Linked DNA regions of Homo sapiens: regions 1, 2, 3, 5 and 6 are each linked to region 4. Evidence: promoter capture Hi-C in 16 types of primary human blood cells and fetal thymus (Javierre and others, 2016). All regions are on one chromosome and are shown on one strand. Each heading gives the region's core, a stretch centred on a gene start or on the middle of the fragment in contact. The rest is flanking DNA. Distances are from core to core; before and after follow the strand shown.

The links. The method cuts DNA at HindIII sites, captures the fragments that hold promoters and counts their contacts. A CHiCAGO score of 5 or more calls a contact.
Region 1: a contact is called between a fragment that was not itself captured here and the fragment with the promoter of IGFBP2 in region 4, in 2 of 17 cell types (non-activated CD4 T cells and neutrophils). The highest score is 5.9, in non-activated CD4 T cells.
Region 2: a contact is called between a fragment that was not itself captured here and the fragment with the promoter of IGFBP2 in region 4, in 5 of 17 cell types (total B cells, erythroblasts, neutrophils and 2 more). The highest score is 7.2, in total B cells.
Region 3: a fragment that was not itself captured here is called in contact with the fragment with the promoter of IGFBP2 in region 4 in 2 of 17 cell types (erythroblasts and total CD4 T cells); the score reaches 6.6 in erythroblasts.
Region 5: a contact is called between a fragment that was not itself captured here and the fragment with the promoter of IGFBP2 in region 4, in 1 of 17 cell types (fetal thymus). The highest score is 6.0, in fetal thymus.
Region 6: a fragment that was not itself captured here is called in contact with the fragment with the promoter of IGFBP2 in region 4 in 1 of 17 cell types (erythroblasts); the score reaches 5.8 in erythroblasts.

The regions. Positions count from the first base shown.
Region 1 is chr2:217,693,326-217,696,025 of GRCh38, reverse strand. The region is part of intron 2 of DIRC3 (disrupted in renal carcinoma 3); the gene reads left to right. It also overlaps the pseudogene LOC100533848. Among named protein-coding and RNA genes, the nearest start is that of DIRC3, 96 kb to the left of the region's middle. The HindIII fragment of the contact is 5,943 bases long and covers 1-2,700 here.
Region 2 is chr2:217,712,105-217,714,804 of GRCh38, reverse strand. All of the region lies in intron 2 of DIRC3 (disrupted in renal carcinoma 3), which reads left to right. Among named protein-coding and RNA genes, the nearest start is that of DIRC3, 77 kb to the left of the region's middle. RefSeq lists an enhancer at 1,031-1,080. The HindIII fragment of the contact is 4,216 bases long and covers 1-2,700 here.
Region 3 is chr2:217,752,968-217,755,667 of GRCh38, reverse strand. The region is part of intron 2 of DIRC3 (disrupted in renal carcinoma 3); the gene reads left to right. Among named protein-coding and RNA genes, the nearest start is that of DIRC3, 36 kb to the left of the region's middle. The HindIII fragment of the contact is 679 bases long and covers 1,060-1,738 here.
Region 4 is chr2:216,631,970-216,634,669 of GRCh38, reverse strand. It overlaps IGFBP2 (insulin like growth factor binding protein 2), which reads right to left and starts at 1,250. Exons shown (of 4, transcript NM_000597.3): 1 at 705-1,250. The coding sequence starts at 1,146. The HindIII fragment of the contact is 7,523 bases long and covers 1-2,636 here.
Region 5 is chr2:217,733,700-217,736,399 of GRCh38, reverse strand. The region is part of intron 2 of DIRC3 (disrupted in renal carcinoma 3); the gene reads left to right. Among named protein-coding and RNA genes, the nearest start is that of DIRC3, 55 kb to the left of the region's middle. The HindIII fragment of the contact is 4,058 bases long and covers 1-2,700 here.
Region 6 is chr2:217,632,374-217,635,073 of GRCh38, reverse strand. All of the region lies in intron 2 of DIRC3 (disrupted in renal carcinoma 3), which reads left to right. Among named protein-coding and RNA genes, the nearest start is that of DIRC3, 160 kb to the left of the region's middle. The HindIII fragment of the contact is 826 bases long and covers 913-1,738 here.

The DNA.
Region 1 (2,700 bases), core at 105-2,604, 1.1 Mb before region 4:
CCGGTGGATCATGAGGTCAGGAGATCGAGACCATCCTGTGAATGGTGAAACCCCATCTCTACTAAAAATACAAAAAATTAGCCAGGCCTGGTGGCCGTCGCCTGTAGTCCCAGCTACGCAGGAGGCTGAGGCAGGAGAATGGCGTGAACCCGGGAGGTGGAGCTTGCAGTGAGCCAAGATGGCACCCCTGCACTCCAGCCTGGGCAACAGAGCGAGACTCCATCTCAAACAACAACAACAACAACAACAACAACAACAACAACAACAACAAACCAGCAATGTTCTTGAAGTGTAAGCAGTAATCTGTAGGTTGTCAAAGAGTAGGTAACCTTCCTTCATCTTGTGACTGTAGATGCAAAGTTGTCACATTGTTGTTCATTAAGGCTGTGTACCCTGAATTCTTACTACGTCAGGACCTGCTTTTCTCATGGCAATCCTGATATCTACCTATTTAGAGCATTGACTCCATTCTCTGTCAAAGCATCCTGTCTCTGACAGCTCACCCAGTTTCTGTTGGTCAGAGGTCTGAGCAAAGATGGCTTCTGAGAGGATCTTTAACAGCTCACTCAGCTATTCCTGACTTATGTCCTTCGGCTGCACTTCACTGAGATCTCCAGGGACCCTTCATCACCATGAGAAAGCATTTATTATTGGGATCATCAGCTGATGTATGAGGAGCTGAAACTTGTTGGTAGAGTCAAAAGGGATTTCAGCCTGGCTACTTTGCAGTTTCATTTTCTAATTTCCATGACATCACCCAAAATGACTGCTGAGAATTTCCAAGGGCAGTTTCTGGGGCATCTTCAACCACAACTTTCTCCATGTTGAGAACACTTTCCTGTCCTGGTTTGAACTCAACATGGTTACACAATATTATCATGAATAAGGAGTCCCAGATTCCAGAGCCTCGGGCAAAGACTTGGGTTGACTGTTCTTCACGTGTGTCAGCCACATTAATCTGTTACACCATGGATGGATCCTGTTGTGAGTCAGAGTGCCAGTCTTGTCAGTGCAAATGATGGGGTGGAACTGGGGGTCTCCAGCACTTCCAGGTTCTTACCAGGCAGTTCTACTTGGCCATCCATTTTCTGTCAGTAACAGAGTGAAAGTGACAGTGACAAGGAGGCCCTTAGGTACATTGGCCACGTGACGCCAGTGAGGAAGATGGAAGGGTTCAATGCATGATACTTCATGGACACTGATGATGAAGAAAAGGATGCCTATGAATTCCTGCCACAATGCAAGCAAGGTGCTTGATCTCACTGGCAATGAGTATCTTCTCATTTCCAGCTTCTGAAGTCAGTGAGGCCATCTGTCCAATGATGGTGCCATTGCCTGTGTTGGCAACTGTGCCAGTTGCTGTGCCTTCTAAACAGGTTGTGGAAGAGAAGACAGTATTTTTTATTTCCAGGGGATTGTCATGAGACAAGTCACATGAGCAGGACTGTGGCTTGGACATCCCATTGATAGATGAGTTATCTACCCTACCTCTCTGAAAAGCCAGCAACCTGATATCTGTAGGAATTTAGTGTTATCCTTTAATCTTCACTGTATCCTGGTTACCAACTGTTATGCAGAAGTTGCATTCTTCTCTGTATCTCAGACAACAAGAGCTTGCTGAAGAATAATTTTACTGAAGGTGGCCATGATATTGGTGTTTTTCACCTCTTGGTAATAAGCAAAGATCCCCGCAACCAGAGTAAGCACAGAACTCACATACACATTGTCTAGGGACACAGACTTATCACAGGAGTACTGAATGCTAAATGCAACCCAGCACAGGAATGCCACAGAGGGATGAAGAATGCTGGCACCGAAACTTGACAATCTTTGATGTTTCTTTGAGAGGCCTAAATTAGGGTGATCCCAAGCCAGGAGCTCTGAAGCTCTCATGCTGGAGAGACCTGTATGTTTGCACCATATTTATCTTTCAATTCCTTATTGCTGAATTTGTGGTCATCCAGGTCAAGTTCTTTCCTGTGTTTCTCTTTCTGGTGATTGTTTTTGAGTTCCAAGCAATTGTTCTTCCGGCGCCTGTACTTTTCCTTGCCTCTCCCTTTGGCTCTTTTTTCTCTACATTTTTAGTTCCACTGAGCTACACCAAATAAATTTTTGGTGTTGTCTTGTCCATGAAGTGGATGACATGGGCCCTGGAGGATGAGGTTGGGTTGCATGAAGGTGCAACTCTAAGGTGTGGGTCATACTAAGGGCCTGGAGCCCAGGGATCTAGCTTTAGGAGCTCCAGACAGGGACACCAAAGGGCCAATGTCAGCCTGGAAATCAGGCTGGCATCCTGCAGCCCATTAAGTTCAGCACCTGTGATCTGTTTTCTATCTTATTTCCATGCATTTCTTATCTACCCTACCAGGTTGAAAGTATTCTGAGGGCAGAACCTATGTTTGTTTCATCATCATATTCTTATCACATGGGAATTCAAAAATAGATATTTGTTGAATGAATAAATGACCTCACAATTTAGGGTCTGCGGGTTTGTGTCCACCATTTGGCAGAGAAATGTAGCCACTGATGGAAGAGATAAAGAGATGAATGAACAAACTTCATAAAGCAAGAGGCTCAAACTAGCTCCTCAATTTTCAGCTGGGGCTCCTGGAAGTCTTTCTGAGGAAAAAGGTGCATAAGTCAATCTAAGCCTCAGTTTCTGCATTTGTAAAGTCAGGGTGAAAATAAGAGAATGACAAC
Region 2 (2,700 bases), core at 68-2,567, 1.1 Mb before region 4:
TGGAGAAGAAAAAAGACACAGCACGTGCATATTTTTCAAAGAAATGCACACGTGCGGAGAGTGGAAAATTAAAGAAGCCAACAACCCAAACCGAAGTTGGTTCTGAAGGAGGGAGATATAAACTTGAGCTCCAGAGCTGGAGCCAAGACAGGAAGTGGGCTTGGCTTGCACGAGGTGCATATGCTGCATGGAAAACCACTCTACGCTGCTCAACTCCCTGTCTTCCTAATTCCCCTCAGCTTCCAGCCTCTGCTGACCCTGGGAACAATGCAGCACTGTGCTGAGACTGTGCCTTTTGTAATGGCCTGGGAGAGGAAGAAAGGAGAAACTGGTCTGGGCGTCTGCGTGTGTGAATCACCCGTGTCACATGGCCAGGCCGGCTGCAGCGTCTCCCCGGGTCTGCACAGGGCACACAGGGAGCATGGCCTGAGCCCATGCCTGGAGGCTGGTCAGCCAGCTGCAGAGTGCCCCACTCTGAACCACACAGCCAGGGAGAGGATGGAGAAGGGGGAAGGTCTGGTGCCATGAGGGCCTTGGAGGACATTCCTTGTTGCCGTGGGGGCAGGCTCTGGGCCCTGGATGTCCCCCGCAATCCCAGATCATTTGTGGAGATTGGGTCTGATGTTCGTGAAAGTCACAGACTTTTTGGTTCATCACTGAGACCTGCAGGACGCTGGCTTGTCTGTTGATTCAGGCAAGACACGTCTCCTTCAGTGTGGGGGCTTTCTCCAAGGACCAAAATATGTCCAGGGTATGGAGAAACCACCTTATTCTGGAGAAAAGAGGGTACAATGAGGTGGGCAGGAGCCAGGGCTGTTCTGTTTTCTAGAACCTTCTAAATCCTGGCTTTAGAGTCACAAGCAAGAGACGCTAAGGCAGGCTCCTCGGAGGGCAGGTTGGAAGATGGTTGGTGTCAGGACAAGAGGAAGATTCGGGCCAGACACCAAGAAAGGCCTGCGCTGTTTGAAGACAGAGCAGATTACTGAGGGTGGTTGCAGCACCCCCCCAATCCCTGTTTCTACTTGGAGAGGGCTTGCACTGCGTGGAGGCACGGGAATGGATCTGTGACCCTGGGCAGTCGGAATTAACCTGACCTGGCCAGCCGAGGTGCCTTCTCACAGACACCCTGCAGAGGGCAGTGTGGTACTGCGGGCAGGACTTTGTTGCCTCATCAACTTTTCTTTCCACCCTGCGGCCCTCCTAATCTTTTAAAATCAAAGCTGCTTAGACACAACCTGAGCGCTGCTTGAATGACATGGATTTAGCCTGGTGCTCTGGGCCCCCTTTGCTGAGGGAAGCCCTCCAGCCTTGGATGTGCTCAGAGAGCTTACCTAACTCTCCCCTCTGCCTGCTTCCAGGCCTTGGGGACAACAGCTAAAAGTGGCTGTGTAGATGGGCAGAATTTGGTTGTACATATGTAGAGCCTCAGGATTTTCAAAACACATTTTCATCTGCTCCTTGAACCCATTCTTAGAGGTGGATGGGATGCTCCGTTTTATAAGAGAGAATTGAGACCCAAAGAGAGGGGAAGTGACAGCTCACGGGGGCCCAGCTGATTCGAGGCAGAGACACGTGGGGGACCCTGGTCTTCTAACCCTCAGTCCAGTGCTCATTCTACCCCTTGCGAAGCCCCTGAAATGCAACCGGTGTCAGTCCCCTCCACCAGCCGACCTCCCCCTCTTTGTGGTTCTGTTTTCTCCCAGGTGAGGGGGGGTGAAGATGCCTCTGCTACTCCTAGATCCTTGAGCCACTCCCTGGCCAACTGTATGATCTCTGGTAAGTCCCCTCGCTGGGATTTGCTTTTCCTACCAGAACAATGAAGTTATTGGATCAGATGATCTCGAAGGTAGCTTGGAACCTTGACCTTTCCTGGTTCCATGTTTGGGCTGTGTCCCCAGTTACAAGTTATTTGGTCGAATTGAAGAATAGAACCTTGCAGGGTGGTGGGTGACAGATGCAAACTCCAGCTGTGAATCTGACCAGACTCTGTGCATTGAGCTGGTTGTTTTCATGTGGAGGGTGCAACCTTGTTCCCCAGGACTTGAGAGAGTCAGGTCAAACCACATGAGGACATTCTGCTTGCTGACAAATGGCATAGACGGTGGTGTCAGTGGATGTGAGTGACAGTCGTCAACTGTGCCCCACAGAGCTCCACACTGAGAGGCCGGTTGTCGGATGCTGGGGGGACAGTGCACTCTTCCAGGGCTGTGCTTCCTGCTCCATCTCCCTAGCAGCCCTTTGTATCCCCGGCAGTTGGGAGTCGGCACGAGCTCTGTTTCTGTGCTGGTTGCCTCAGCAGGTCTGCTGTTTTCCAGGAGGAGTGCATAGGAAAAAGAAAGAGCCAAACCCTTCAAGGCACACCCAGGGTCACAATTACAAGATATACTTTGGATGTGTGGGATGGGGAGGAGTGGAAGGACAGAGCAACATAGACAGAGCCTGAAAGTCAGAATTCCTTTTTGACATCATCAACCACCATTCATTGAGCACTGAGCATGTGCTAGGTACTATGTACCCACAACTGGGTACAACTCTTAATAATCTCATTTTACAGATGATGACATTGAGGCCCAGAGAAACTGTGTAACTAGTCCAAGATGGCACAGCTCAACAGAGGTAGAGTAGTGATGGCTAAGTGCACACCCTTAATTCCTCCTCTAGGCTCTATCCATCTCCCTGACTGAATTATCATCTTTATTA
Region 3 (2,700 bases), core at 150-2,649, 1.1 Mb before region 4:
CTTTCAGCAGAGACCTCTTCAGGACATCTGCCTTAGATGAAGGAGAGTGTAGGTGTTCAGGAAGCTTGGGGGAGATTGATTTACTTCCTGGAGGGCTTTTTGTTAGTCCTGAAATGTCACTATGTGGTTTGCTGCTTCCTCTGCCTGCGGGTGATGGGGTAGGGGTAGAAGGTGGAGGGGGTGCAGGTGTCTTGTTGGGAGCCCCTGGAAGTCACCTCTTTAGAGGGGCCGTCTCTGAGATACGACGATTCATTTTCTGTTATCCTTATATTTTTGTCTCTACTGCCCCCAACTCCCCCCATGTAAACAGCCTGCTCCTTTGAGATCCCTGCTTTGGGAGACTTGCTGCTGCAGGCCAGGGAGTAGGAATTGCTTTCTTTTCTTTTTTCTTCCTTTCTGGGAGCCTGAGTTCTTTGAGATGTGAGTGCCTTTGAGGGAAGAGTCCCGGAGGCAGAGCACCCTTTTCCCTGTCAATGCCCAGGGTGGGCAGGACCTCAGAGTGGGCTGACAGTGTGATGTGTCTGTGACTAGCTTTCTCTGGCACTGTTTGGCACAGAAGCAGCAGAGCCCCTGGGCTCCTGGGTACTGTGTGGCCTTGCATCAGTTATCTCAGTGTAACCAGTGGGGACAAATGGCCAGTGACCACGCATGCACCCCTTCCAGTGATGCTGGTGAGAGAGAGGATGGGCGGGTTCCATTAATGACCAGGACAAAATTTGCTGTCTCAGGTGGGATGGGGGCTCAGAGATGGATTTAACTTGACTTAAATAATTTTTTTGAAAATTATATTTCTCATATACCTGAAATCGTGGAGTTTGATTTATAGTTGCTATTTCTGAATTTTCCTTAGCACCTGCACAGCGTCTTGTATGCAGCAAGCACTCACTAAGCCCTTCTCCTTACCCTGCCAGTCTACCTATTAGACTAGCCCTGGTGTTCAGGACTTAAAGTAATGGGCCAGCTAGGAGCCTCCAGGGCTGGGTCTCTAGACTGCAGGTGCCATGAGATGGGTACTCCCAACAGTCCAGCCTCAGACACATTGCTCTGCTTGACAAAGCTTTGCAATTCCCATGAGTGACAGCACCAAGAGCTACCATGTCTTGAGAGCTTCTGATCTGCTGGCATGGTGTGAAGCCCTTAGCATGGTATCTCATTAGTTTTCACAGCAGCTCTATAAAGTCCAGACTACATTGTCTCTATTTTGCAGATGAGAAAACTGAGGCTTGGAAAGATGGCAGAGCCAGAATACTATCCCAGGTGGTTGGACACCAGAGTCACTCATTTTAAGCACTTAGGACAAGTGACTGATGGACTGACTGAATAAAGAAGGACAGGAATAATAAAGTTGTCAAATTGGGGAATGGCAAGACAGGATGTATTTATTTCCTGCCTTTGGCACCTGTCTTCAGTGACCCTTTCCCTCCCTTTTCCCCTTAGGCCCCACCCAGAGAGGCTGATTTCCAGTCTGTGGGGTCCAAGGGGGATTGAGGGTCCCCTGTCTGTGCCTTCTGGACCCTCTGGGAGCTCTTGGCTCTTGACTCTGGGCTGGGAGGCTGGAGCCCTATTGCCTTTTCTATCAGGGATGGACAGAGACATTCTTTTTCATTTTCTTTCCCCAATGCCATTTTGTTAAATCAGAAATCCTTGAGGAGTGAAGTCACATTTTCCATGCCCCTGAAAGCTCTGGAGAGCTGATGAGTGTTATTGTAACCAGAGGAGACTGGGGACAAAGGAAGCTTATAATTTTGTAAACGAGGCTTGGGAGTGCCCTGCCTGCAATGGCTTTCCAGAGGGAGAGGCAGAATTCGGAAAAACCAGAGGCAAGAAGAATGGCAGGACTGGCCAGCCTTGAGCCTTGCACCCAGGCAGAGACCCTCCTGCCCCCTTCTCCAGTTACTGTTTCCCAGCCTTCCCTGGGGAAGGAAGTTGGCTTGCTGAAGCGGCAAGATCTCTATGCTTAGAATGAAGCACGTGGGGTCACAGTGCCGGCTCATTCACCTCAGTTTCCTCATCTGCAAAATGGGCTGGTGAAGGATCTGCCCCAAAGAGTCTGCACTCAGCCTGGCGATGGGGCTGTGTTTCATAGAGAAGGAAACTGAGGCATGTGTTTTTCAGATAGGAAGTGGCAGAACCGGGATTTAGATCCCGGCAGTCTTACTCCTGAGTGGGAACTCCCACCCCTTGCTCCACAGCGCTTAGGCTCACCAGAGGCCAAATCATGTGAATCAAATGTGACCCGCGTGCTGCCACCTGGGGTCAGCCCTCTTTGCCCCAGCCTGGAGGGACAGAGGCTTCCGCTGGAAGGTTAGGCTCTTAGGTCTCTTCAAACCTTAACATTCTCGGACCTTCTCCTAGTGGCCAGACTCTGTGACCTACTGCGTGGGAGGGAAGCCTGGGAACAGGTGGCCTATTTCAGCCCCTCTCAAATGAGTTCCAAGCAGGTGGCTGTTGCTTCCTCTTGCTGGCCATGGCTTCTCACTAGGCTTGCACAAAAATGGAGAGAAGACCAAATAAAGCTCCTTTGAGGACAAATGTCTTGGACAGGGCTGGGGGTGGGGATCCAAAGATGGACAGAGCCAACCCCCAACCCTTGCAGGGCTCCGAGCCTGCCTGCTTCCAGGCTGCAGGTCTTCTGTGCAGGCTGGGGTTGGGTGTTCAGGGCTGATGGGGGCAGGCATGTGAGTGATTTGGGGAAAAGGG
Region 4 (2,700 bases), core at 1-2,500:
CGGCGATCGGGCTTAAGTTACATTGATTCAGCTGCTAGGAGACCCCTCGCCTACCAAATGCCTCCCTTTTATTTTTCCATTCAACGTGGTAGCAAGAGCCCTGCTCGTTCCCTATGGAGAAATAGTAGTGGTGGTTTTCATTTTTCTCCTAAGCGACTCATCCTACAAAGTACCAAGTCCTTTCTTTCCAACTCACAACCCCAGTAGAAGGAAGGGCCCCTTGGGACGCCGGTGCCTCCTCCTAGCTCCCTCTCCTCTTCCAAGGTTCCTGGTGTCACTGGCACCCCGCAGCCTCCGCCTCCCAGCAGCGATCCCACCAGGACCCTTGGGTCCTCAAGCAGTGCCCCAAATAAGATTCGAGTTCCTACTCCCATGGATCTGACCACCGGCCCCCTTCTCAGCAAATCCCTCCTCCAGAATAGAAGTCTGGGTCCGTTCCACGCGGGTAAAACTATGGCAGCAGGGATGCCTTTCCTCTCCCCATTCATCCCCACCAAATGAGTCGCCAGGGCTCTTCCACTTGCTCTAACTCCAGTTCCCCTCCCCGGGCCTGACTTCCGCGTCCCGCTAGCAACAGTCCCCCTTGATTTGGTCCAAGGTCTCGGCTCTGCCGCCCCTAAAACCGTCCGTAAGGTCCAGCCGCCCGTCGGGCTTCTCCGCTGCCCTCCAAGTTTCTCCCAACTACTTGTTCCAGACCGCGTTACCTGCAACCTGCTCCGGGCTGGCGCCATACTCGGCGTCCCGGCGCTTCTCACAAGTGCCCTCGCCCATGACCAGCGCCTGCAGGGGCAGCTCGGAGCCCGGGTGGGGATAGCAGCGCAGCCCCTGGCCGCAGCGCGGGGTGTAGACGCCGCACGCCTCGCCCTCCAGCCGGGCGCACACCGAGCAGCAGCCGCAGCCCGGCTCCCGGACGAGCTCCGCGCATGGCATGCGGGCGCCTCCGGCCACTGCGGCCACCGCGGCGGGCGGCGCAACCGGCGGGGGCCCGCAGGCGGCCAGGCGCTCGGGTGTGCAGGGCGGGCAGCGGAACAGCACCTCCGCGCGCGCCCCGCCGCCGCCGCCACTCGCGCCCAGTAGCAGCAGCAGCAGCGGCAGCAGCGGCGGCGGCGGCAGCGGCAGCGCGGGGCAGCCCACTCTCGGCAGCATGCTGGCGGTCGGCAGCGCGGCGCGGCGGGCGAGCGAGCGAGCGGGCGGGCGGGCAGGTGGCACGGCCCTGCGAGCGCGGGAGCCGCCTCCTCCGCTTCTTCCTCCTCCCTCGCCGCCGCAGCCGGGTCCTAAAGGGCCGGCTTCTCCCCGCCCCCTGCCTTCTCCCCTCCCCCTTTTGGAGACCACTCCCTTCCCCCCCGACACTCCCTCGCGCCGGCAAGTGAGTGCGCGCACGCCCGCTCGCCCACCTCCGCGTTGGCTGCGGGCTCTGGGGGTTCCCTGCTCTTCCCGGGCCCCGTCCCTCCGCACTCTTCTGGCCTGACTATGACTCCTGAAGGAGAATACGGATAACTCGCGGGTTTGGGTAGGACCGGCGTGGCGGTGGAGAAGAGCGCGTGCTTTTGTCTGCTCTCAGTTCAGTTCGCGAGGACTTCGTTTGCGCGCTTCCCCTGTGGCCGGCACTGGGCTAACCGCTGGGGAACACAAAAGACATAAGGCTCCGTTTTGACCTTCAAGTAGATTTCAGTCGGCTCATACCAACTCCTTCCATCCTGGGGTATCACCCACCACTGACACGTGGCTTGGAACAATGACTTCTTGTTGGGTGGGTCCTGCGGAGTTTCAGACCCGTCTAGACCAAGCTAGACCCAAACAGCCCCGAATGGTCTTAGTGACTATTGCAGTTTTCCAAACCTGGGAGCTCGTGACTACAACCTATGAGAACCCTAAGTGCCCCGCAAAACCTGCCCCCTTCGTCTGCAGACCCCCTCCCTTCTCCGCCCGCTAAAATAATCCCTTAGCACCCTGGGCCCCCACCTACAAATCTCGAGGCACTTGTTGCAGGACAGATCCCAGAACACTCAGTTGCAGGGGTCTTGGAGAGGTCAGATCAGCTCTCCAGGTGTGACAGACCCGCTCTGGGGTAAGGCCATTTATGGCTGTCTTCAATAATGCAGATGGACAAGCATGACCTCCTTTCATTGTTCTGTTTGATTTACTGAGTCATCTACCCAAGCTGCCCCCAACCCCCATCATTCCAGGCTGGACTCAGCCATAATCAACCATCTCCTGGGGTGTGACCCTAACAAAGACCCCTGTCAGAGAGATTCCTTGGGTGACAGGTGGACCATTAAGCTGCCTCCACCGCAGGTTTCATCTCCCTATACCTCAGCGCCCCTCTTCCCCCCAGACCCCTCCACTCTGGCTCTTTCTGACTTCAAGGCTCAGAGCCTGTTTGATTCAGTTCAACAGCTAGTTAACCCAATGGCCACCTGGCTCTGAAGGTGACCTAGATGCCTCCAGGAAGGCAAGTACCTGGTCTTAAGACGCCAAGCTGGGAAGAGTTATCGGGAAAGACTTTGGTAAGATAAAAAATAAATAAATAAATGTTTATCAGAGGCTTTGAAGAAAAGAAATATTTTGGTAGAGAGGTGATGTGGTGGTTGAGGAAAGGGGAGTTTCTTGGGTGAGTCGGAGCTGAAATTGAAGCTTGTAATTCTACCAGAGGAAATGGGCGGTTAGCAAGGGCACAGGCAGAGGGACCACCTGAAGCAA
Region 5 (2,700 bases), core at 110-2,609, 1.1 Mb before region 4:
CACCAACTCACCCTGTCACTTGGAAAAAGTCATTTTCTGTCTCTGAGATGCAGTTTTCTGACCCGTGCAGCAGGATAGCTGGCCTAGATGATTCCCAAACTCCCCTTCCACCATGACATTTCAATGACAAACATTTTTAAAAATAGAAAATAAACAGTATTTTAAGCACAGGCCCTAAGTGACTTCATTGAGCTCACCTTGAACTGCCCCGCACCAGAAGCAGTTTGGCTCTTCCCTATCAGCCAACTCTGTCTGATCAGAATCTCCTGTTGTTTTTGAACTGGTTTGGAAACTGCAAGCAGGATGAATCCCAGCTGCTCATGCCCTTTGGGACTTCCCAGACCCCTCTGGCTGGAGAATGTAACCCAAGACTCTTGTTCTTGTATCTATGCCAGCCCTTGTCATACCGTAGTGGCCAATCTGTCTCCCACCAGATTAATCCATTTATTGCACCAATATTTATTGAGAGCTCGGTGGTGTCAGGCATTATTCTAGCTACAGTAGGGAATATAACAAAGCCCCTTTCTGCATGCAGCTTACATTCTAAAAGGAAGGGAGAAGAGGGAGAAATAAACCTGCACCCCCCCACCCATAATTTGATGTCATGAATGGTAAGTAGTATTATAAGGACTAGAGAAACAGAGTAAGGGGAACAGCATGAAGCAGAGTGCTGTTTTAGCTTGGATGATCAGGGAGGCCTTTTTGAGGAGCTGACTTTGGACATAGCCCTGAAAGAAACAAGGGCACGAGCCACGCTGCTCTCTGGAGGAAGAGTGGTTTAAGGAGGGAAAACAGCAGGAGCAAAGGCCCTGAGGTGGGAGCATGCTGCCTGGGCTCTAGAACAGCAAGATGGCCAGTGCAGTTGAAACTGGGAGCAGTGAAGGGGAGAATGGCGGGCAGGAGGCTGGAGGTCAGATCATGCCGGGGGAACAATGAGCATGGATTTTGTCTGAGGTGTGATGGGAAGTCTTTGGAGGATTTGAGGAAGGGAATAAATATGATCTGATTTGGGTTTTAAAAGGATCACCTGGTTGCTGTGTATAGAAGACACTGAAGTGAAACAAAGATGGAAAAGCAGGGGACCAGTTAGGACAGGGGACCCCAGTTCCCAAGCCATAGAGGTATCAGTCCATGGCCTATTAGGAACCAGGCCACAGAGCAGGAGGTGAGTGGGGGAGGGGGTGAGCAAACATTACCACCTGAGCACCACATCCTGTCAGATCAGTGGTGTCATTAGATTCTCATAGGAGCACAAACCCTACTGTGAACTGTGCATGTAAGGGACCTAGGTTTGTGCTCCTTATGAGAACCTAATGCCTGATGATGTGAGATGGAACAGTTTCTCCCCCTACCCCCACACCTGGTCCACCATGAAACTGGTCCCTGGTGCCACAAAGATTGGTGATATGGTTTGGCTGTGTCCCCACCCAAATATCATCTTGAATTGTAGTTCCCATAATCCCCATGTGTCACAAGAGGGACCCAGTAGGAGGTAATTGAATCACGGGGGAGGTTTCCCCCATGCTATTTTTGTGATAGTAAGTTGTCTTGAGATCTGATGGTTTTATAAGGGGCTTCCCCCTTTGCTCGGCTCTCATTCTTCTCTCTCCTGCTGCCTTCTGAAGAAAGATGTGTTTGCTTTCTCTTCTGCCATGATTTTAAGTTTCCTGAGGCCTCCTCAGCCCTGCAGAACTGTGAGTCAGTTAAATCTCTTTTCTTTATAAATTACCCAGTCTTGGGTATGTCCTTGTAGCAGCATGAAAAAGGATTAATACAGTTGGGGACCACTGAGTTAGGAGAGGATCATGGAGACTGGTGGGAGATGATGGCTTGGTTGAGGAGAAGGTGAGACGTACTTGGAATCAGGTATACGAATGCAGGCACAGACCATGCATTATTTGCCTGAGATGGGCTCTGGCCCAGAACAGATGCTCAGAAGAAGGGAAGATGAAAGTGGAGAGCTGTGGTCAGGGTTGAGAGAGGGAGAAAAGTGGAGAACACTGATACAGCTCTGGCAAGCCCACCTCTGAGGCTCTGTCTGCATTGCCTATACCTGTTTGTTTGCCCTTGATGTCTACATTCTACAAATACCTTGTTTTGGTTGAATCTTTTGTTGTTCAACCTGGCAGGCTTCTATTCCTGAACCTATTGTTTTGTCCCTATATGACCCCTTCCTGCTAAGAACAGCGCTGTCCTTTTGGGGCCTGCCCCTCCCACCCCATTGCTTTAATGTCTGCATCACCTCGGATTTGCTGGACCTTTCTTTTCTCTTAGGACCTCACTGCTTGCTCATGGAGACTGATCCTCTGTGTCTGCTGCCACAGTCACGCTGCTGCCCATGGGTTCCCTCCTGTGGGATGAGTTTTGAGCTCCAACATCACCTCTACTGCTTCTGCTGTGGCCAACCTGATCCAACCTGATCCTCAGATGCCTCCCCATTCTAGTCTCTGCTGAAGTGCCACACTGCTTTCCTTGCTTCTTTGATGCCTTTGGTAGGGACTGCCCCAAGATGCCAAGCAAGGCTACAGCCCAGCAACATGGGGAGATAGTGCCTCATGTAGAAAACTTTGACCTATGAAAGACAGGAGATGCGAGGGATCCAGCAGACAATTTTTTCTCTTTTCTTCTATGGGATGGAAGATTCTCAGGGGCAGTGATTATGCCTCGGATGTGTGAAGACATCCTCTGTGAATCAGAAAC
Region 6 (2,700 bases), core at 76-2,575, 1.0 Mb before region 4:
GAGGCAGCAGAGTCCACATAACTGCTGAGTTTATCTCCAACGAGGCTGATTTTTTCCATATATCAGTCACATAGTTCCCAAGGCCCTTTCCTGTGGTTGCTGATGTTTCTTCAGCAGCAAGAATTAGCTTGGGTCTGAATTAGCTTACTTGTTGGGCACATATATCCTTTGTCCTGGTGCTCCCTCTGCCCCAGCATGATATTTACATGTCCACTAGAGCAAGCATCATGTTTTACTGTGGCTTGTGTTATTTTATCTGACTGTCCTGTTAGACTACGGGCAGCTGGAAGGTCCAACCGTGTCTTATTCAGTTTTTTAGAGTGACAGTTCTTAGCAAAGTGCTGGGGGCTTGGAATACTCTAGCAGCTCAGTAGATGTTTATGAATAAACTAATGAATGAGGTTTTGTCCTGACTTGCTCTCTAAGTTCATATTTCCTTCCATGGCAAGACAAAAGTAGTAGCTGTTAATTCTGACTTAGAGTGGAATGCTTCATGGACCCAAGTGGCAATTGAGCTAGTTCCTTAGAAGGCAGTAGAGTGGAGTTGGGTGTGGTAGCCATGTAGAAGGTGAGGGGAAGATCAGTGTGGGTCACGTGCAGCGTGTGGTTGGAGACTAATGATCAGCTTAGTGTGGCTGTGGCACCGAGGACACAAGTAGGTGTAATAAGAATTGAGTTTAAGATTGTAGATTGGGTACAGATCATGACGGACTTTCTATGAAGTGTTAGGGGCAGCTTGGAATTAATCCTCCGGCCAAAGGGTCAGGAGCCAAGGAAGTGTTTGAAGGATATGAGAAAGTAGATTTTGGTAGTAGTTGTAGGGATTTAGTTTAGACATTTTGGAGGGTTTTCCAAGGTTAATGGGCCTGAGTTATCAATCTCTCAGGCATTTGGAATGATTATAAATAAGCTTCCTGGGATCTTTTAAGGCATAAGGCATGGTCCTGGTCAGTGGCCCTAGGAGAGGATTTATATAGTGACTGAGATGTCTCCAGACCTAAGAAACTCCGTTTGCAACTTTTCCTCCTAGGAATAAGCCTGTATGGATGTGGTGTCCTGAGAGGCTCCAGGGCGGGGCATCACTATTGGAATCAGCCAGAGGTCTCCAGGCCTTCAGGGGACATTAATTAAAACCATCACCATGTGGCCTCTTCAGCCCAAGGGGTGATGAATTGCACTTGAGGTGTGTGCAGTACATTACCCTTTGGCTCAAGGGTGCAAGCTCTGTGTCCTTCATGACATTACCTAAGAGTAATTCACAATATGTTCTAGAAGGCTGCCAGGAAGTATGAAGAGCAACTTGTACACTTCTGGATTTTCTTTCCTCCAATCACCATTGTTCCCTGGAAGAAGGGGCATCTTTATCCCTGGAGTCTGGATCACAATCCCACATCTGAGTCCTTTTATTAATTTCCTGGTGTAGGTTGGGCTGGTAATGCAGACCTCATATCATGCAGAGCAGAAAAGGACCTTGTCCTTCCTCCAGCTCTGGCTGGAACAAATGAAGCCCAGGGGTTGCTGGTGAGGGCTTAGTGGAGAGACAGTCTGTTGGTTCATGGCCAGAGTAGAGCCCTGGAGAGTTCAGGAAGGCCAAGAGGAATTTTCAGGGCTTTAGAGAGGAGAGCTGAAGGTTGGGGTCACCTGTCCCTGCTCACCATTAAAAAGTGAGGCAGCAGAATCTGTGCCTAGTCTGGAGGGCTTCCAGTATCCCCCAGATTTCCCCCACCTGCCTTAAGCTTCCTTCTTTCAAGAGCTGATGTGGGTTTGGAAAACTCTGACAATCAAGCATTTGCCAAGGAGTAGGAGTTGCAGTGGTGAGGGGAGACTTGTTCTTATGGACTTTTCTTGGATACAGGGCACAGGGGGCAAAGTGGCACAAAATGCCTGGTGGGCCTCCTTTATAGGAATTTGTCCACCAGGTTTGCAGAGCTCACATTTCCTGAATTTAAAACACGCATGCACACAACACACACACCACACACACCACACACACACACACACACACACACACACACACACGAGTCATGCATTACTTACCAACAAAGATTTGTTCCCGGGATATGTCATTAGGTGACTTCTGTCATTGTGTGAACATCGTAGAGTGTATTTACATAAACCTCAACCGTAGAGCCTACTAAACACCTATGCTACTGTATGATATAGTCTGTTACTCCTAGGCTACAAACCTGTACAGCATGTTACTGTACTAGATACTGTAGGCACTTGCAACACAGTAGTATTTGTATATCTAAATATATCTAAATAAGAAAAGGTACAGTAAAAATATGGTATTATCATCTTATGGGAACCACTGTTGTATATGTGGTCCATCATTGAGCAAGACATCATTGTGTGGCATATGACTATATACACACACGTACATATATGGATATATGTATACACACGCACATGCATACATGCAGAGGGACCATTTGATAAATAGCATGCATAGGTTTTTGTGGATGAAATGCCCTGTTGGTCTGTGTTGTGTTGTTTGCCAGCAATCCCCAAAACATAGAGATAGAAGCCACTGCAAATAGAGACCACCTTGCTCTCTCCTGGCTAAACTATGTGAGGCCCTGAACAATAGTATTCCCTCAAAGTGGCATTTATGAGTTTTAGGGGACTGTGTTGAGAGGATGCTGGATTTGCAGAAAGCATTTTTTTTTTTTTCTGGCTGTGTTTTCCCAAAAGTCTGAG